Linked DNA regions of Homo sapiens: regions 1, 2, 3, 4 and 6 are each linked to region 5. Evidence: promoter capture Hi-C in human tissues and cell types (Jung and others, 2019). All regions are on one chromosome and are shown on one strand. The core of a region is centred on a gene start or on the middle of the fragment in contact, and the rest is flanking DNA. Distances in the headings are between cores, read along the strand shown. Region 1 overlaps ZNF480 (zinc finger protein 480). Region 2 holds the start of ZNF880 (zinc finger protein 880). Region 3 overlaps ZNF611 (zinc finger protein 611). Region 4 overlaps LOC105372452 (a long non-coding RNA gene). Region 5 holds the start of ZNF808 (zinc finger protein 808). Region 6 overlaps LOC122539214 (Zinc finger protein LOC122539214).

The links. Contacts are between HindIII fragments. The study calls those that stand out against the background at their distance.
Region 1: a fragment that was not itself captured here is called in contact with the fragment with the promoter of ZNF808 in region 5 in 3 of the 25 tissues and cell types used here (adrenal gland, lymphoblastoid cells and mesendoderm cells).
Region 2: the fragment with the promoter of ZNF880 here is called in contact with the fragment with the promoter of ZNF808 in region 5 in 1 of the 25 tissues and cell types used here (liver).
Region 3: a fragment that was not itself captured here is called in contact with the fragment with the promoter of ZNF808 in region 5 in 2 of the 25 tissues and cell types used here (H1 embryonic stem cells and stomach).
Region 4: a contact is called between a fragment that was not itself captured here and the fragment with the promoter of ZNF808 in region 5, in 2 of the 25 tissues and cell types used here (hippocampus and neural progenitor cells).
Region 6: a contact is called between a fragment that was not itself captured here and the fragment with the promoter of ZNF808 in region 5, in 9 of the 25 tissues and cell types used here (H1 embryonic stem cells, adrenal gland, aorta and 6 more).

The regions. Positions count from the first base shown.
Region 1 is chr19:52,316,965-52,320,390 of GRCh38, forward strand. All of the region lies in intron 4 of ZNF480 (zinc finger protein 480), which reads left to right. Among named protein-coding and RNA genes, the nearest start is that of ZNF610, 18 kb to the right of the region's middle. The HindIII fragment of the contact is 6,068 bases long and covers 1-3,426 here.
Region 2 is chr19:52,368,387-52,371,708 of GRCh38, forward strand. ZNF880 (zinc finger protein 880) reads left to right here and starts at 1,537. Exons shown (of 4, transcript NM_001145434.2): 1 at 1,537-1,591. The coding sequence starts at 1,580. RefSeq lists enhancers at 1,219-1,518, 1,529-1,638, 1,839-1,978. The HindIII fragment of the contact is 7,170 bases long and covers 1-3,322 here.
Region 3 is chr19:52,702,485-52,705,868 of GRCh38, forward strand. ZNF611 (zinc finger protein 611) reads right to left here. Exons shown (of 6, transcript NM_001161499.2): 6 at 329-3,384. The coding sequence ends at 2,453. Among named protein-coding and RNA genes, the nearest start is that of ZNF611, 31 kb to the right of the region's middle. The HindIII fragment of the contact is 3,945 bases long and covers 1-3,234 here.
Region 4 is chr19:52,745,201-52,748,631 of GRCh38, forward strand. The region is part of intron 1 of LOC105372452 (a long non-coding RNA gene); the gene reads left to right. Among named protein-coding and RNA genes, the nearest start is that of ZNF611, 12 kb to the left of the region's middle. The HindIII fragment of the contact is 5,759 bases long and covers 1-3,431 here.
Region 5 is chr19:52,525,856-52,528,937 of GRCh38, forward strand. ZNF808 (zinc finger protein 808) reads left to right here and starts at 1,813. Exons shown (of 5, transcript NM_001039886.4): 1 at 1,813-1,856. RefSeq lists enhancers at 432-1,258, 1,259-2,086. The HindIII fragment of the contact is 14,459 bases long and covers 1-3,082 here.
Region 6 is chr19:52,671,839-52,674,886 of GRCh38, forward strand. The region is part of intron 1 of LOC122539214 (Zinc finger protein LOC122539214); the gene reads right to left. It also overlaps a transcript of ZNF83 not described here. Among named protein-coding and RNA genes, the nearest start is that of ZNF83, 35 kb to the left of the region's middle. RefSeq lists an enhancer at 2,172-2,671. The HindIII fragment of the contact is 8,097 bases long and covers 1-3,048 here.

The sequences.
Region 1 (3,426 bases), core at 522-3,021, 210 kb before region 5:
ATTGCGCCCACCTTTTTATTATTTTTGAATAATGCTGCTATGAACATGGGTTTTTGTTGTTGTTGTTTTTTGAGACAGTGTCTCACTGTCTCGCCCAGGCTGAAGTGCAGTGGCGTGATCTTGGCTCACTGCAACCTCCACCCTCTGGGTTCAAGCGATTCTCCTGCCTCAGCCTCCCAAACAGCTAGGACTACAGGTGCACACCACCATACCCAGCTAGTTTTTGTATTTTTAGTAGAGACAGGGTTTCACCATATTGGCCAGGCTCGTCTTGAACTCCTGACCTCATGATCTACCTGCCTCAGCCTCCCAAAGTGCTGGGATTATAGGCGTGAGCTATCGTGCCTGGCCTTGACCATGGGTTTTTAAGTATCTCTTCAAGATGCTGTGTTTACTTTCATTTTATTTTTCATTTGTTTGTTTGAGATGGAGTTTCGCTTTTGTTGCCCAGGCTGGAGTGCAATGGTGCAATCTCGGCTAACTGCAACCTCCACCTCCTGGGTTCAAGCAGTTCTCCTGCCTCAGCCTCCTGAGCAGCTGGGATTACAGGTGTGTGCCACCACGCCCAGCTAATTTTTGTATTATTAGTAGAGACAGGGTTTCACCATGTTGACTAGGCTGGTCTCGAACTCCTCACCTCAGGTGATCTGCCTGCCTAGGCCTCCCAAAGTAGTAACATTAAGGGTGTGAGCCAGTGCGCCTGGCCTTTTTCTTTTTTATCTTTATACCCAGATGTGGAATTGTTGCCTATACTGATCATTTGATTTTGGATTCTTTGAGAAAATGTCATACTTGTTTCCATAGTGACTGCACCATTTCAATTTTCCACCAACAGTGGCACAAAATTCTCCTATTTCTCCATATTTTCGACAACACTTGTGATTTTCTGGTGTTTCATTTTTTTCCCTTTTCTTGACAAAACGTATTCTATATGGGTGTGAGGTGATATTCTTTATTGGTGTGAGGAAAAATATTCAGTTTTCTATTTGCATTTCTCTCTAATGATTTGTGATATTTTGCATTTTCTTATATGGTCGTATATCACCTTTGGAAAAATGTGTATTTCTTTCCACATTTCTTAATTCGTTATTTGTTTTGCTTTGTAGGACTTATTTATATATTTTTATTTTATTATTTTAAATAATTATTTATTTATTTTTTGAGACGGAGTCTTGCTCTGTCACCCAGGCTGGATGCAGTGGCGTGATCTCGGCTCACTGGTACCTGCGCCTCCCAGGTTCAAGCAATTCTCCCACCTCAGCCTCCCAAGTAGTTGGGATTACAGGTGCACACCACCATGCCTGGCTAAATTTTTGTATCTTTAATAGAGATGGGGTTTCACTATGTTGGCCAGGCTGGTCTTGAACTCCTGACCTCAGGTGATCTACCTGCTGCAGCCTCTCAAAGTGCTGGGATTACAGGCATGAGCCACCACATCCGGCCTATATATATTTTAGATATTAAGTTTTTATCACAGATATGATATGCAAATATTTTCTCACATATGGTAGGTTTTCTTTACATTGTGGTAATTGTTTTCTTCTATCCACAATAGTTCTCAATTTTGTCATAGTGCATCGTGTGTATATTTACCTTCTTTCCTGTACTATCAATTTTATATCTGGGGAAATGTTGAATCCAATCTCATGAAGCTTTTTACCTATGGTTTTTTCTAGGAGTTTTATCGTTTTAGGTCATGAATAGACTTTAAGTTAATTTTTGCATGGGGTGTAAAGTAAGGGTTCAGCCTCATTCCTTTGCTTGTGGGCATCCTTTTTCTTCAGCACTATTTGATGAAGTGACTGTCCTTTCCTTGTTACATGGTCTTGACATTTTGATTGAACATTATTCTACCAAGTATTTGAGGGTTTGTTTCTGGCTTCTCTATTCTTGCTTTTTTTTTCATTTTTGCATGGGGGGATGGATTCTCGCTCTGTCATCCAAGCTGGAGTGCAGCAGTGAGATCTTGGCTCACTGCAACCTCTGCCTCCTGGGTTCAAGTGATTCTCCTGCCTCAGCCTCCCGAGTAGCTGGGATTACAGGCATGTGCCACCATGCCTGGCTAATTTTTGTATTTTTAGTAGAGATGGGGTTTCACCACGTTAGTCAGTCTGGTCTCAAACTCCTGACCTCAAGCAATCTGCCCGCCTCGGCCTCCCAGAACCCTGAGATTACAGGTGTGAGCCACCACACCTGGGTCATTTTTTACTTTAATGGAGAATTTTATCCTCTCATTTGGGTTACCAGTACTGTCTGGAATCCTTTTATTTCATTTTGAAGGGCTCCCTGTAGCATTTCTTGTTGGACAGGTCTAGAGTAGTAATGAACTTTCTTAGCTCTTCTTTATCGAGGAAAATCTAAATTTCTCCTTTATTTTTGCAGGTGACTTTTGCTAAATATAGTATTCTTGGTTGATTTTAAGCACTTTCAATATGTCATCTCACTGCCTTCTGGCAGGCAAAGTTTCCGCTGGAGAAAGTACATAGTCTTATACCTTTTCCTCTAAATGGCAAATATCTTTTTTGTTGCTCCTGTCAAAATTCTTCCTCTGTCTTTGATGTTTGATAATTTGCTTATAATGTATCTCTGTGTGAATGTCCTTGGGTTCATTTTAATTTGAATGGTCAAGCTTCTTGAATTGTATATTCAGGTCTTTCTTCAGAATTGGGATTTGGACAATTATTTGGACATTATTTCTTCAGTTGCAATTTCTGATCCTCTGTCTTCTCCTTGTGAACCTCTAATAATTTGTATGTTGTTGTGCTTGAGAGCATCCGAAAAATGTATTAGCGTTTATTTGCTTTTCTTCTCTGTTTTTTGTTTTTGGTCTTTGTAGCTGATACTGTGTTTTTTTTTTTTTTTTTTTTTTTTAAATTAGAGTCTTGCTCTGTAGCCCAGGCTGGAGTGTAATGGCTCCATCTTGGCTCACTGCAATCTCTGCCTCCCAGGTTCAAGCGATTCTCCTGCCACAGCCTCCTGAGTAGCTGGGATTACAGGTGCATGCCCCCATGTCCATCTAATTTTTGTATTTTTAGTAGAGACAGGCTTTCACCATGTTGGTCAGGCTGGTCTCAAACTCCTGACCTAGTGATCCTCCTGCCTTGGCCTCCCAAAGTGCTGGGATTACAAGCGTGAGCCACTGTGCCTGGTGGAGCTGATACTTTTGAATAACTGACCTTTAAGTTTGCTCATTCTTTTTGGTGCTCTATCCATCTGCTGTTGAGCACCTAATGAATTTTTACTTTATTTATTGTGTTTCAGCTCCAGAATGTTTTTTGTTTCCTCCTTTGTTTAATATCCTCCTTCTCATGTATTGTTTTTCTGATTTCATTTAGTTGTCTATCTCTCCTTGATATCTTTTAGCTCATTAAGAATCTTAAGGCAGTTGCTTTAAATATTTGTCAAGGGCCAGGTGCAGTGCCTCAT
Region 2 (3,322 bases), core at 287-2,786, 160 kb before region 5:
AATTTGAATTTTTGACCACTCTTCTGGAACTTGTTTGAAGTCCCCCTAAGGTTTGGCTTGGATCTTGAGAATGATGATCCCATACACTGATATGGTTTGAGAGTGTTTATTATATAATGAGGCTCTGTGGGGGAAAGCAGGGTATACTTTTCCAGCTGGTCCAAAAGTGGCTTCAGAGAACTGGGATAGGTGACTGGCTTGGGGTGTCATGATTGCTAAAGGGTAGGGCTGGGGCGGGGATACCCACTACCCATACTGGAAACTTAGTTACAATTCACACCTAGCATGTATATTTTTATATTTTTTGTATGTATATATATTTTTACATTTTTTTCCTACATTGCCTCCAAATTCTATGTTTAATACATTTCTTCCCTGTTTTGCTCTGGTGAAAACTTTAGGGGACAAATAAATGAGTGCTGTTTGGAGACAAAATTTTGTGACATGGGACTGGGCATTGTGGCGTGTGCCTGTAGTCCCAGCTACTTGGGAGGCTGAGATGGGAGGATCACTTGATGCCAGGAGGTCGAGGCTGCAGTCAGTGAGCTGTCTGCACTTCAGCCTGAAAGACAGAGGGAGACCATCTCAAAAAAAAAAAAAAAAAAAAAAAAAAAGTTGTGACCTGAGTATGTCCATAAGACAATGGCAGGTATACACTAGGATTAATATAAATATGAAAAAAAAAAAAAAACTTGGCCGGGTGCGGTGGCTCACGCCTGTAATCCCAACATTTTGGGAGGCCAAGGCAGGCGGATCACGAGGTCAGGAGTTCAAGACCAGCCTGGCCAACATGGAGAAACCCTGTCTCTATTAAAAGTACAAAAAAGTAGCCCGGTGTGGTGGTGGGCGCCTGTAATCCCAGCTACTCGGGAGACTGAGGCAGGAGAATCGCTTGAACCCAGGCGGCGGAGGTTGCAGTGAGCCGAGATCGCGCCACTTCACTCCAGCCTGGGCAAAAGAACGAAACTCTGTCTCCAAAAAAAAAAAAAAAAAAAAAAGGAAATTGCACATTCCGCCCTGGCAGGGTTTTGCATTTCATATTTTAATTTGCATCCCCTTCATAAACAATTCAAGGACTTTAAAATTCCGGAAACTAGTGTTTATTATTCATTTATATTTATTTATTTTAATTATTTATTTCCAATTTGTTATTTATGATTATGTATTTATTAGGCGCAAGGTTTCTCTCTCATGCCCAGGCGGGAGTGCAGCGCACGACCTCGGCTCACTGCAGCCTCCACCTCATGGGCTCAAGCGATCCTCCCACCTCAGCATCCGGGTAGCTAGGACCACATGCGAGCGCCCCTACAGCCGATTTAAAATTAATTTTAATAGCAGGAATTTTCCTGGATCTAATCATCAACAAACTTTCCCTCTGCCGGGACACAATCTATTTCCAGATAGCTGAGTTCTTCCAGTCTCCACGGCAGGTCTAGCCTCCAAAACGAGACGAGCTGGGAGCGAGGCGGAGGGAAGCGCAGGCTCCGCCCAATCCCACCCGGGCCTGGCCTCGCCTCGCCTCTCAGCTGCGCGCGCAGTTTCCTGGAGACCCGGAAGCAGATTACGTGGAGTGACGGTCATGCTGCGGCGTGTGAGTTTCCCTTTGTTTAGATTAAATCTGGGATGCTGAGTCCCCTCGCGCTTCTGTACCCGGCATCTCAGGGGTCACACAGACCTTGAAATCCCCGCATCGCTCCCTCCACCCCGACTAAACTCAGACGTTCTAATGAGAGTCTGGCGGTCGCTTCCCTGAGTGTTAAAATCGCTCGGAGGCTGGTCCTGTCCCCGGTCTTTCACCACAGGGCCATGTAGACAGCTCCTGTCGCGGAGTTTGCCTGCTTCAAATCCTTCAGTGACCCCTAGACACGGCCCGCGCTGCGTAAAGTTCTCACCCGCGAGATGGATCCACGTCTTTCCGGTCCCCCAAGCCTCGCCCTCTTTTCACAGGCCTGCCCCCTTTTCTGTGCCTTAAATGAGAGGAAATCGATCTGATGTTTACTGCTGATTGTGATGTTTCAGCCTCCATTGGGCTTTTGCTAACACCTAAATAAATATTTAGTGGACAAAATTAGGTTAGTGCAAAAGTAATGGCAAACCGCGATCACTTTTGCACCAACCTAATATTTATGGGCCGGGGCTGGAATTCCATCTTCTCCGGAGGCCCAGGCTGGAGAATTCCTTGAGCACAGGAGTTTGAGACCACTCTGGACAACATAGTGAGACCCCCATCTCAATTTTTGAAACATATGTTTCAGTACGGGTATTTAATAGAGATTGGAATTCTCGTTTCTATGTTTTTACATGGTCTGACTTTTTGAAATAGTTTGAAATAATGTTTATAAACTGAATTGAGCACAGTTTATACATTTTTATTGTTGCAAACATGCTGAAATGCACATTTGCAAAAACAACGACAGCCAGGCACAGTGGTGCACGCTTGTCATTCGAGTTACTCGGAGAGGGTGTCATTTGAGGCCAGGAATTCAAGGCTGTAGTGTGCCATGAATAAGCCACTGCACTGCAACCTGGACACATTAAAAAACGAACAAAGACAAATATCTAAAAAAGAGGTTATTGACAGACAACTCTTTCAGTTGTCACATATATGTTTACTAGAGTATATGTGTGTGAATGTATATATGTATATGAATAAGTGTGTACATGTGATGTGTGTGGATGAGTGCACAGATGAGCAAGTCTATTGTTTTTATCAAAGGCGCATCATCAGTTTATATACGTCTTATATCTTTTAACAGTTGAAATTACATCTTATATATTTTCATGACCTTAAAATTGTTCTACACTGTTATGATAGTGAGTCTATGGCTGTAAGGATAGTAACCTGTTATGGGGATACATGTGCGACAGTTTCTTGATTTTAATCCCGGAACTTATTTTAACTATACTCAGTTAGGTCATTGTCTGTCAATTTACTTTTGATGCTGATCTGTTATTGTTTGATGTTTTTTTTTTTCTTTTTCTGAGATGGAGTCTCTCTTTGTCACCCAGGCTGGAGTCTCGCTTTGTCACCCAGGCTGGAGTGCAGTGGCACCATCTCAGGTCACTGCAAACTCTGCCTCCCGGGTTCAAGTGATTGTCCTGCCTCGGCCTCCCAAGTAGCTGGGATTACAGGTGCCCACCAGTACGCCTGGCTAATTTTTTTATTTTCGGTAGAGATGGGGTTTCACCATGTTTGCTAGGCTGGTCTTCAACTCCTGACCTCAAATGATCCACCTGCCTTGGCCTCCCAAAGTGCTGGGATTGCAGGCATGAGCCACCACGCCTGGCCTAATTCTTAAAGTTTGATTCTAATGCCCAGACT
Region 3 (3,384 bases), core at 12-2,511, 180 kb after region 5:
CAGGCATGCTGGTGGGTGCCTGTAATTCCAGCTACTCAGGAGACTGAGGCAGGAGCATCACTTGATCCCAGGAGGCAGAGGTTGCAGTGAGCTGAGATTGCACCACTGCCCTCCATCCAAGGCGACAGAGCAAGATTCCATTTCAAAAAAGAAAAGAAAAGAATACACGGGTGCTTTTGGAGGAGCGTTCTATGCCAATCCAGCCCATGTTTCAACATTTTTCCAGAATGGACCAGAGGGCCTTGAGGGAAACACGCAATAAATAGCTCCCAGATCAAGATTTTAACAAAGGACATAAGGAAAGAAAACTGAAAAACAGACTAACTGGTTAAAGTACATTTTGATGTTTAGTTAAAAGGCCACTGACATATTTACCAAGTACACACTGAAACAATCAAACTTAAGTTTAGGTACCAAAGGTTTTCAATAAATAACAAAGACTAGAAAGCATGCAGACATTGATATGAACTGGATGCAACTAATTTAAAACAGCAACTATTTTGAAATTGTTTTTTAAAAAAATCTAACGAATTCTGGGGTCAACCGGAAAATAACTGGAAAATATACAAGTACAGAAACGAATGATGTGAGCTGATTATAGGATGCTGCAAAGGCATCTTTCAGAAGTCATTATGTATTAAGAAATACAACTTTTATAACTTAGATTTATCTCAAACTCAAACTGCAAAATAAATAAATAAATAAATAAAAAATAAAGAGAGAAATGAAGAGGAACCAGAAAGAAAAAGAAGGAAGTCCATTATACGAGAAGAAAAGCATTTTTGAGGTCTTTTTTTGTTATTTTTTGTTTGTTTGAGATGGAGACTCACTCTGCCACCCAGGCTGCAGTATAGTGGCACAATTTTGGTTCACTGCAACTTCTACCTCCTAGGTTTAAGCAATTCTCATGCCCCAGCCTCCCAAGTAGCTGGAACTAAAGGTGCACACCAACACCCCCGGCTAACTTTTGTATTTTTAGTAGAGATGGGGTTTCACCATGTTAGGGTGCTTTTGAAATTGTGACCTTAGGTGACCAGTTCACATGGGTCGACCAAAGTACTCTGATTGCAGGGATGAGCCACCACGTACCGAGGCTTTGATATCCTTTTTTTTTTTTTTTTTTTTGAGATAGACTCTCACTCTGTCGCCCAGGCTGGAGCCCAGTGGTGCGATCTCGACTCCCTGCAAGCTCCGCCTCACAGGTTCATGCCATTCTCCTGCCTCAGCATCTGGAGTAGCTGGGACTACAGGCGCCAGCCACCATGCCCAGCTAATTTTTTGTATTTTTAGTAGAGACAGGGATTCACCCTGTTAGCCAGGAAAGTCTCGATCTCCTGACCCCGTGATCTGCCTGCCTCGGCCTCCCAAAGTGCTGGGATTATAGGCATGAGCCTCCGTGCCTGGCCTCATATCCCTTTTAAAAATTACTATGATATATCCCTTTCAAAAAGTACTAACTGAAAAAAGTACTATCTCTTTAAAAAGTACTGGCTCAAAAAAATAATAGAAAATAAGAAACAAAAAACAGGCTGAGAAAAGTGGCTCACATCTGTTGGCCATGCTGGTTTCAAACTCCTGACCTCAAGTGACCTATGTGCCTTGGCCTCCCGACGTGCTGGGATTACAGGTCGGAGCCACCACACCTGGCCCCATCCTCTTAACATAAACACTTGAATGTCAATAAAGGCTTGAACTCAATGTTAAGTCAACACAAACTCAAGTCAATGCTGAATTGACTCCAATGTCAATTAATGCTTGATGGTTTGCTATACTCATTTCATTGGGAACGGTTATCTCAAAAATGAATTTTCTGATGTTCTGCATGGAGTGATCTTGGACTGAAGACCTTGCCACACTGATGACATTTGTAAGATTTCTGTCCAGTATAGATTCTCTGATGTCTAATGACGTGTGAACGTGAAGCAAAGGCTTTGCCACAATCATCACACTTGTGAGGTTTCTCTCCTGTATAAATTCTCCTATGTTTTGCATAGGATGAAGCTTGACTGAAGACCTTGGCACAGTCATGACATTTGTAAGGTTTCTCTCCAGTATGAGTTCACCGATGACCTGCAATATGTGAACGATCTCTGAAAAATTTGCCACATTTATTACACTTGTAAGATCTCTCTTCATTATGGATTCTCCAATGATTTGTAATCGTTGTAGCATTACTGAAGACTTTGTGACAATCATTACATTAGTCAAGTTTCCCTACACCATGAATTGCCTGATGGTGAATAAGTGTTGACTGCTTGCCAAAGGCTTTGCCACACTCATTACACTTGTAAGGTTTCTCTCCAGTGTGAAGTCCAGTATGTTGTTCCAGGTGTGAATCACTCCCAAGTCTTGTCAGAAACCTTACATTTGTAAGCTTTCTCTCCAGTATAAATTCTCCTATGTCTTTAAGGTGTGATTTCCAAATGGAAACTTTGTCACATGCTTCACATTTCTAAGGTTTCTCTCCAGTATGAATTCTATGATGACGTGAAAGGTGTGATTGTTGATTAAAAGCCTTCCCACATTCATTACACTTGTAAGGTTTCTCTGCAGTGTGAATTCTGGTATGTCTTGACAGGAGTGAATTACGCACGAAAGCCTTGTCACAAATTGTACATTTGTAAGATTTCTCTCCAGTATGAAGTCTACGATGGTATATAAGGGATGAGCAGTGACGGAAGGTATTGCCACACTCATTACACTTGTAAGGTTTCTCACCACTATGAAGTCTACGATGGCAATGAAGGGATGACCTGCGACTGAAGGTCTTGCTGCACTCATTACACTTGTAAGGTTTCTCACCACTATGAACTCTATGATGGCATACAAGGTATGACCTGTGACTGAAGGTCTTGCTGCACTCATTACACTTGTAAGGTTTCTCTCCACTATGAATTCTAGTATGTTTTGCCAGATAGGAATGACACGCAAAAGCCTTGTCACAAACCTTACATTTGTATGGTTTCTCTCCAGTATGACCTATCTTATGTGTCTCAAGGCTTGATTTACGACTGAAAACCTTTTCACATTCATCACATTTGTAAGGTTGCTCCCCAGTATGAATTGACTTATGAATTAAAAGATCTGAATTTTGACCAAAGGTCTTCCCACATTCATTACACTTGTAAGGTTTTTCTCCACAGTCAATTCTAGTATGTTTTGCCAGTTGTGAACTCCACACAAAAGCCTTGTCACAAACCTTACATTTGTAAGATTTCTCTCCACCATGAAGTCTATGATGGCATACAAGGGATGACTTGTGACTGAAGGTCTTGCCACACTCATTACATTTATAAGTTTTCTTTGCAGTATGAATTCTTCTATGTCGAGCCAGCTGTGAATGCCACGTGAAAGCTGTGTCACAAACCTTACATCTGTATGGTT
Region 4 (3,431 bases), core at 114-2,613, 220 kb after region 5:
TCTATAATTTTGGATGTTCAGGACCAGAAACAGAACTTATTATCTTTGTTCTTGGAGTAGAGATTTTTTTTTCTCCCCATTCCCAAGGGTAGAAAGACGGCAATTTTTTGTGCTTATGTTTGGCTAAACTTTTTGTTAAGTCACTGTTAACAGCTGGACTCACTTCTGCACTGGGACATGACTGAGTTTGTCCTGTGCAATTGTGGTAGAATTGACCTCGAGGTGCCCAATCTATAATAGTTCCGAATTTATCATTTTGTAATATCACCGCACTATTGGCCACACATTCTTCCCAAACTAAAACTTTTGTGTCTTTTGATCCTTTGGGATTTTTTGGGGGTAAGGCTTTCCTTTAGGCCTAAATTTTAATGATCTTTGATAAGAAAAGTCTTGTAAATAATTTACCTGTGGCCTGAGTGACATTCCACTTACCGCGTGATTAGTGAATCTACTGGTGGTACCGACAGTAGGTACTTCTACCAACCAATTTTTGACTGCAGGCATTAAACATCCTGGTGCTCTCCCGAGGCAAATAGGAGGATAATGATACCCAGTGGAAATATTTATCATCATTCCTTCTTCCTCAGGTTTGGCAGGGCAACGATCATCTGTGGGGCCAGGTACCCATACACTATTATTAACGTATACTTCAATAGGATTATCCATCCATGAGACTGCCCGAATTAAGGGCGGGAAAGGCACATAGGCCCAGTAGGTATAATTAGCTGCAGCTGCTCCTGCAGGCGTGGGGAGACTTACCACCGTTGATACAATCATCAAAGCTGCAAGCAGCGTGTTCTCTGGAGTTTGTGTCACCTTTGTGTTCTCTAGGCTTTTTTAAGCTAACTGTGTCAGCTTTTAAATTGTGCCCAAGTTGGCAGCTCCGCCTTCGTGGTGGATGGCAACTTCATCTGTTTTTTTGACATCACCATTTTGTTTATCTTGTGAGTCAATGGTGCTCGATTGCGGTGTTTCCGTCTCTGTGGAGGCGCTTTTTTTTTTGTTTGTTTGCATCTCTAATGGGTTCATTGTAGAACTTTAAATGTCTAGTGGGTATCTAAACAGGAAGCTGATTTTCTCCTGGTGAAACACAAGCAAAACCTCTCCCCCACGTTACCACCTTCCCTATTTCTCATGTCTTATTGTTGTTGTCTTTTTATCAAATCAGTTTTCCTTCACGTAGGCTGTTCTTTTTACCAGTAAGATGTTGTTTTGCAGAGGTAGTAGTCTGATTTCTATAAGTGTTTAAAACATTTAAAGTATAGAGTGCTAGATTAAGTTGCATCTGAGGAGTGGTACACTCCTTACTGTCTCCCCCTTCTCTTTAACTGAGTTTTGAGTGTTCTATTAGTTTTTTTAACTATGGCCTGTCCTTGGGAATTATAGGGAATTCCTGTTTTGTGTGTAATTTTCTACTGATTTCAGAATTTTTGGAAAGCTTTACTATAGTATCCAGGTGCATTGTCAGTTTTGATTTTTTTCTGGAACTCCCATGACAGCAAAACAAGATAATAAATGTTTTTTCACATGGGAAGTACTTTCTCCTGTCTGGCAAGTTGCCCACATGAAATGTGAATAAGTACCAACTGTTACACGGACACATCATAATCTTTTAAATGAAGGTACATGTGTGACATCTATTTGCCATAATGCATTAGGACATAGACTTCTGGGATTAACTCCTGCCTCTTGAGTGGGCAGGTGTAGGACTTGACACTGGGTGCAATGTTGTACAATATCTTTTGCCTGTTTTCATGTGACATCAAATTTGTTTTTTAATCCTGCTGCATTTACATGAGTCAAAGCATGAAGTTCTTGTGCTTTTATGAATGCAGATGGTACCAGTAAGTCAGCTTGTTCATTTGCTTTAGCTAAAGGCCCTGGTAAATTAGTGTGTGCTAAAATATGAGTAATATGAAATGGGAAATTTTTTTTTCAGTTTGTTGTAATAAACTGAACAGCTCGTTTAACTGATCATCTATGCTATATTTAATTAGAGCTGTCTCAACATCCCTTGTAGCCTGCGCTACATATGCAGAATCTGATACAATATTAATAGGTTGATCAAAGTCTTATAACACTGTAATGACTGCAACCAACTCTGCTCTTTGAGCCGATTGATATTGAGTTTTGATGACTCGCTGTTTTGGCCCTGTGTAAGCTGCTTTTCTATTGCTGGAAGCATCAGTAAACACTGTCAGAGCATTTTCCAAAGGTTTATGTCTGGTAATTTTAGGTAAAATCCAAGTAGTCAATTTTAAAAACTGGAAGATTTTTGTTTTTGGGTAATGATTATCAATAATTCCCACAAAATTAGTAAGACCAATCTGCCATGCATCAGAATTGATAAAGGCTTGTCTAACCTGTTCCTTGTTTAAAGGAACAACTATTTTGTCTGCGTCATTTTCACACAATTTTATTATTTGTAATCTTGCCTGACCAATTAATGTAGCTATTTGATCCAAGAACAATGTAAAAGTCTTAATTGTACTGTGAGGAAGGAATGACCACTCCACAAGATCAGTATTTTGAACAATGATGTCTGTTGGAGAATGTGCAGTAGCAAAAATCAAAAGTTGGAGTGGGGTTAAGGGACCTTTGTGCTGACTGATTTTTTTCTTTTACTAACTTAATTTTTTTTGTTGCCTCTGGGGTTAATATTCTTTTACTATTTAAGTCTGGGTCCCCTCTTAAGATAGAGAACAAATTTGACATGGCATAAGTAGGAATGCCTAGAGTTGGCTGAATGTAATTAATATCTCCTAGCAAGTTTTGAAAGTCATTTAATGTTTTTAATGTGTCTTTTCTTATTTCTACTTTTTGTGGCTTAATTTTTCTATTTTCTATCTGCATCTCTAAATAATGAAAAGGAGTAGAGGTTTGAATCTTATCAGATGCTATTGCCAGTCTTGCGTTGGCAACCTCTGCTTGCAGAAATGTGTAACAGTCAGTTAATTTGTCTCTTGTTTCTGCAGCACACAAAATATCATCAACATAATGAATGATATAACAGTCTGAAAACTTATCTCTAACTGGTTGAAGAGCTTGACCTACGAAAGTCTGACAAATAGTTGGACTATTAAGCATTCCCTGAGGTAACACTTTCCACTGAGACCTGGTGGCTGGTTCCTTATAATTTATGGCTGGTATAGTAAAGGCAAATTTTTCAAAATCTTTCTCCACCAGAAAAATGGTAAAAAAGCAATCCTTTAGATCAATTATAATTAAAGGCCAGTCTTTTGGGATCATGACCAGAGAGGACAACCCGAGTTGAAGAGGCCCCATGGGTTGAATGATGGCATTTACGGCTCTTAAGTCAGTTAACATACACCATCTGCTGGATTTTTTCTGAATTACAAACACAGGAGAATTCTAAGGAGAGAAAGTGGGTGAAACGTGTCCTTTTTAAGTAGTTTTTTAACTATTTTATG
Region 5 (3,082 bases), core at 563-3,062:
TGAGACCGAGTCTTGCTCTGTCACCCAGGCTGGAGTGCAGTGGTGCTATCTTGGCTCACTGCCAGCTCCGCCTCCTGGGTTCACGCCATTCTCCTGCCTCAGCCTCCCCAGCAGCTGGGACACAGGTGCACGCCACCACACCTGGCTAATTTTTTTGTATTTTTAGTAGAGACGGGGTTTCACCATGTTAGCCAGGATGACCTCGATCTCCTGACCTCGTGATCCGCCTGCTTCAGCCTCCCAAAGTGCTGGGATTACAAGCGTGAGCCCCCATGCCCGGTCCTAAGGTTTATTTATTAACAAAATGGTTTTTATTTCTTTCTCTGTTATCGTCGTGGAGATGATTTCTCATTTGGGATAATATTTTTTAGTTTTCAATTATATTTTGTCAACATTTAAAAAGCAAAGTAAAGAATATTTCTTGGGCCAGGCATGTTGGCTGACGCATGTAATCCCAGCATTTTGGGAGGCTGACACAGGCAAATAACTTAAAGTGAGGAGTTCGATACCGGCCAGGTCACCGTAGTGATACCCCGTCTCTATGAAAAATACAAAAATTAACCGGGCATCGTGGCACGCGCCTGTAATGCCAGCTGCTCCCGAGGCTGAGGCAGGAGAATCGCTTGAACCCAGGAGGCAGAGGCTGCATTGAGTTGAGATCTCGCCACTGCACTCCAGCCTGGGCAACAGAAATACTGTGTCTCAATAATAGTAATAATAATAATAATAATAATAAAGTAATAGATCTCTTCCACAAATGTGCTGGGACAACTAACTGGATATCCACATGGAAAAGAGTAATGTTGGATCCCTATGTCACACCATCAAAAATTTTATTTAAAAAAGTTTTTTTTTTTTTTTTAAAAAGGGAAAAGGCCCGGGCGCGGTGGCTCACGCCTGTAATCCCAGCACTTTGGGAGGCCGACGTGGGCGGATCACCTGAGGTCGGGAGTTCAGCCTGGCTAACATGGTGAAACCCTGTCTCTACTAAATATACAAAATTAACTGGGCATGGTGGCGCATGCCTGTAGTCCCAGCTACTCGGGAGGCTGAGGCCGGAGTATCGCTTGAAACCAGGAGGCGGAAGTTCTAGTGAGCTGGGATCACTCCACGGCACTCCAGCCTGGGCGACGGAGTGAGACTCTGTCTCCAAAAAAAAAAAAAGGGAAAGAGAGAGAGAGAGACTAGGAAGGGAGACCTGCCGCAGTGGGTGTTACTTTGTCGCCCAGGCTGGCTTGGGACCCCAGGCTCAGCAATTCTCTCCGTTGCTTCCTGAGTAGCTGGGACCTGAGGCTCCCGCCCCCGCGCCTCTGCTGTGTTTAAGCAGCAGGTGGTGACCTCACTCCTTCCTGGCCTAAGCACTCCGTCCCGCACCCCTGGCGGTGGCTTTAAGGAAGTCTCTGAAGCTGAGCTCAGGGTGGACTCTCCCTCCCTAGTGAATGGAGATAGAAAGGGAGAGGACATCTATTCTGTTCCGTGGGCCGTCACCATGACATCGTACATGCCGCCCAGGCAGGGCTTTGCATTTCACATTCTAGTTTGCATCCCGGTTCCAGACAATTCCAGGGCTTTGGAATCATGCCTCAGACTTTCTGGCGCTCTCGCCTCCACAACCTAAAAACAGAGACGCTAGGAGAGAGGCTGAAAGACGCGCAAGTCCCGCCCCGGCCCCGCCCCGGCCCCGCCCTCTGCCGGTTCTAAAGGGCAAGGTCTCAGCGCCTCGCGCCCCGCCGCTACCTCGCCCAGGCCCCGCCCACCTCCTCCCACCTCCCGCCCAGGCCTGGCTTCCGTCCTGCGCGCGGAGATTAACGCAAACCCGGAAGCGGATCGGGTGGAGTGAAGGTCACGTCGCCATGGTGAGTTTTGCTCTGTGTTGCATTAAGTCTCCGCTTCCCAGGTCCCCGCCGCTTCTGTCCCTGGGACGTGGGGTCCCCACAGACCTGGAAATTCTCGCCCGTCTTCCTTCGCCCAGAGCAAATTGAGACAGCCCAGTGAGAGGCCGGGTGTCGCTTCCTTTCGGGTTTAAAGTCGTCTGGAGGCTGGTCCCGTCCCGGGTCTGTCTGCTATAGGGCAATGTATACACTTTCTATTGCGTAGTTTTTCTGCTCAAAACCTTCTTCTGACTCTTCCCTCCTCGCGCTATTTAAAGTCTTCACCCACGAGGTGGATTCTTGCCCGGGGCGCACCTCCCAGCCACCCCTCGTCGGCCCCTGGAGCGTCGCGCCGCAGCCCCAGTCCCAGGGAGGCCGCGTCCTCTGCCTGGTCCTGGGATCTTGCAGACCCCATCCTTCTCCCAAGGCGCCGTCCCCCCTCCTCCCACCTCCCTACTCGTGCCAGAGCCTGCGGCTCCCCAGGTCTCTCCTCCGCAGTCACCGCTTCCATTGAACCCACACTGGGAAGGACGCAGGGCCCTGTCCTGTGACATGGGGTCTTCTTGCCTGCCGAGCTCCAGCCCTTGGAAAACGCGCTCCTCCGGGATGCAGGCGTCTTACTCCAAACCCTCCTGCGATTGTGTGGGCCGAAGGGATCAGGAGACAGACAGCAGTAGAAAACCTGAGACAGAGAAAGAATAAGAAAGGCCCATAACAGATGGCAAAATAGAGGATTGGTGAGGGATATGCCAAGATATGGTGAAAGTGGAAAAAGAAAGCAACAAAATACCTAGAAAAGCAGGTGGAGAAAAGCAACTGGAGAAATGTAGAGAAAAGCTAGATGTACACAGAGATGAAGGACGGCAAGGTAGGGAGAGTGGCAGCAAAGAGGGAGGCTCATCAGAGTGAGGGAGAGAGGGAGGGATTTGGAGCCAGGGCAGACAGAGCAGAGTGGTGCTGGTGTCAAGGAGAACCGAGGGAGAAACACAGCAGGGAGGACACCTGGGGATCTGGGGTGACACAGAGTGGGGACAGGGGAGTATATCAGGGAAGAGAGAATTTAACAGGGAGAGCAGAGGAGGCGCAGAGATGGGTGAAGAGGCAGAAATAGATGGAGATTGAGGACGATTGAAAGATTGGGGAGAAGGAGCAATAAGAGGTTAAATAAGTTGCGAGGATGGAGCAGAAGAGATGGAAGAGAAGGAATAGAG
Region 6 (3,048 bases), core at 86-2,585, 150 kb after region 5:
TAGGATTTATTTTCATATAGAGAAAGATCATGAAATATTACTAAGAATACATTGCAGTCAAGTTATTCCGTTTTACTTGGGCCCTGAAAAAATATAACTAAGTTATAAAATTGGCTGGGCACATTGACTCACACCTGTAATCCCAGCACTTTGGGAGGTCGAGGCAGGTGGATGACCCAGAGGTCAGGAGATTGAGACTAGCCTGGCTAACATGGTGAAACCCCATCTGTACTAAAAATACAACAATTAGCTGGGTAAGGTGGCACAAAACTGTAATCTCAGCTACTCAGGAGATTGAGGCAGGAGAATCTCTTGAATCCAGGAGGCAGAGGTTGCAGTGAGCAAAGATCTCACCACAGCTCTCCAGCCTGAGCAAAAGAGTGAGATTCTGTCTCAAAAAAATAAAAATAAAAATAAAATGAAATTATAAATCACCTCATTTCTGCATGTAATACTTTTATGACTATATCTGTAAGTTAACATGTACTATGAACTATGTTTTTCTCCCACATCCCTAGCTATGGAAGAATTCATCTATCAAACACTAGTAATTAGCTAAAATATGATTACATTTAGAAGGGAAATTAGCATATCTAGAATATTAGCAAGTTTAAAAAAGCATAATGTCGTCAGGCATGGTGGCTTGTGCCTGTAATCCGAGCATGATGGGAGGCTGAGGCAGGAGGATGGCTAGTGCCCAACAGTTGGAGTCCAGCCTAGGCAACATAGCACCTCATCTTTATGTTTTAAAAATTAATTAAGTTACTTATTTATTTTTGAGATTGAGTTTGGTTCTTGTTGCCTAGGCTGGGGTGCAATGGCACGGTCTCGGCTCACTGCAACATCTGCCTCCTGGGTTCAAATGATTCTCTTGCCTCAGCCTCCCAGGTAGCTGGGATTATTGGTGCTCGCCATCATGCTGGGTTAATTTTTGTATTTTTAGTAGAGACGGGGTTTCACCGTGTTGGCCAGGCTGGTCTCCAAATCCTGACCTTCCAAAGTGCTGGGATTACAGACATGAGCCACCGTGCATGGCAAAAAAGTTTATTTTAATCAGAAATAATTAATAAATAGAACATGATAATGGGTACAAAAAATAGAATAAGACCTATTATTTCATAACACAACAGAATGACTGTAGTCAATGATTAAATTGTACATATAAAAATGGGGATGGCCAGGTGTGGTGGCTCAAACCTATAAGCCCTGTCTCTACCAAAAATACAAAAAAAACTGGATGTGAGCCTGTAATCCCAGCTACTCAGGAGACTGAGGCATGAGAATCACTTAAACCCAGGGAGCAGAGGTTGCAGTGAGTGGAGATTGCACCACTGCATTCCAGACTGTGCGAAAGAGCTGGACTCCATCTCAAAAAACTAAACAAATGGCTGGGCACAGTGGCTCATGCTTGAATCCCAGCACTTTGGGAGCCAAGATGGGTGGATCCCCTGAGGTCAAGAGTTCGAGACCAGCCTGACCAACATGGTATAACCCTGTCTCTAAAAAAATACAAAATTAGCCGAGGGTGATGGCGCATGCCTGTAATCTCAGATATTCAGGAGGCTGTGGCAGGAGAATCATTTGAGCCAAGAAGGCAGAGGTTGCAGTGAGCTGAGATCGCACCACTACACTCCAGGGTACACAAGAAGAGTGTAACTCCATCACACACACACACACACACAAAATGCTATAAACAGAACATCAGAAAAAAAATATAGAAAGTCACATGTATTTAAAAACCTTAAGCTTTTGAAAGCTGTTTTCCCAAGTAATCAAAAATGAGCCAATAACGATGCAAATATTATCTTTTTGTTTTTTGTTTTTTCTGGAGACAGAGATCATGCAACTGCACTCTAGCCTGGGTGACAGAGTGAGACTCCAACTCAAAAAAATAAATAAATAAAAAATTATTAGGCCAGGAGCAGTGGCTCTTTGGGAGGCTGAGGTGGGCCAATCACCTCAGGTCAAAAGTTCGAGACCAGCCTGGTCAACATGGTGCAACCCTATCTCTACTAAAAATACAAAAAATTAACCGGGCCTGGTGGTGTGTGCCTGTAATCCCAGCTACTAGGGAGGCTGAGGCAGGAGAATTGGTTGAAGCTGAGAGGTGGAGGCCGCAGTGAGTCGAGATCATGCCACTGCCCTGCAGCCTGGGTAACAGAGTGAGACTCCATCTCAAAAAAAAAAAAAAAAAAAAAAATTACCAATGTCAACTGAACTTGGAAAGCACCACACATTTGCACACTCACACAGACACAACCCTCTGATATGGCTCTAGACCAAATCCACAGGTTAAAAAGCCCTCAAATGAACTCTTGGGCCTTAAGCCTTTCAAAAGATCACCTGTTTCCTGTGAGGTTGGGGCTGTGGCCCTGATGTGTGAAGACTTAGGACCATCCTGTCATCATAGAAACCCTAAACAAAATAAAGAAGGAAATTTACCTCAACAATATAAAAGACCATCCATGAAATGACCACAGCTGAAATAACCAATCAGGAAAAATTGAATGCTTTTCCTGTAGGATCTCACATGATGCTAGAACGTTCTCACCCTTTCTATTCAATCAATACTGACTGTCCTAGCCAGAGCAATGAAATAGCAAAAGAAATCAAACTCATCCAAATCAGAAAGAAATAAATAAAATTTTATTTGTTTGTAGATGACACGATCCTCTGTGTAGAAAGTCACAAAGACTCAACCAAAATACAAGTGGAACTAATAAACATTCAGTGGATTTGCAGAGTACAATATTAGCACCAAAATTAGTTGAATTTCCATGCAATAACAGTAAAAAATTTTAAAAGGAAATTAAGAAAACACTTCCATTTTCTAGAGAATTTAAACTAAGATATACTTAGGAATAAACGTAAAAATGCGAGAAGTTTCTACCTTGAAATCTATGAACATTGATCAAAATGATTAAAAACATAGAGATACAACCAATATTGATAGATTGGAAAACTTAATCTCGTTAAATGATTATACAACCCAAGATGATTTAGATTTAACACAACGCCCATACAAATCCCTATCAGTTTTTGTCAAAG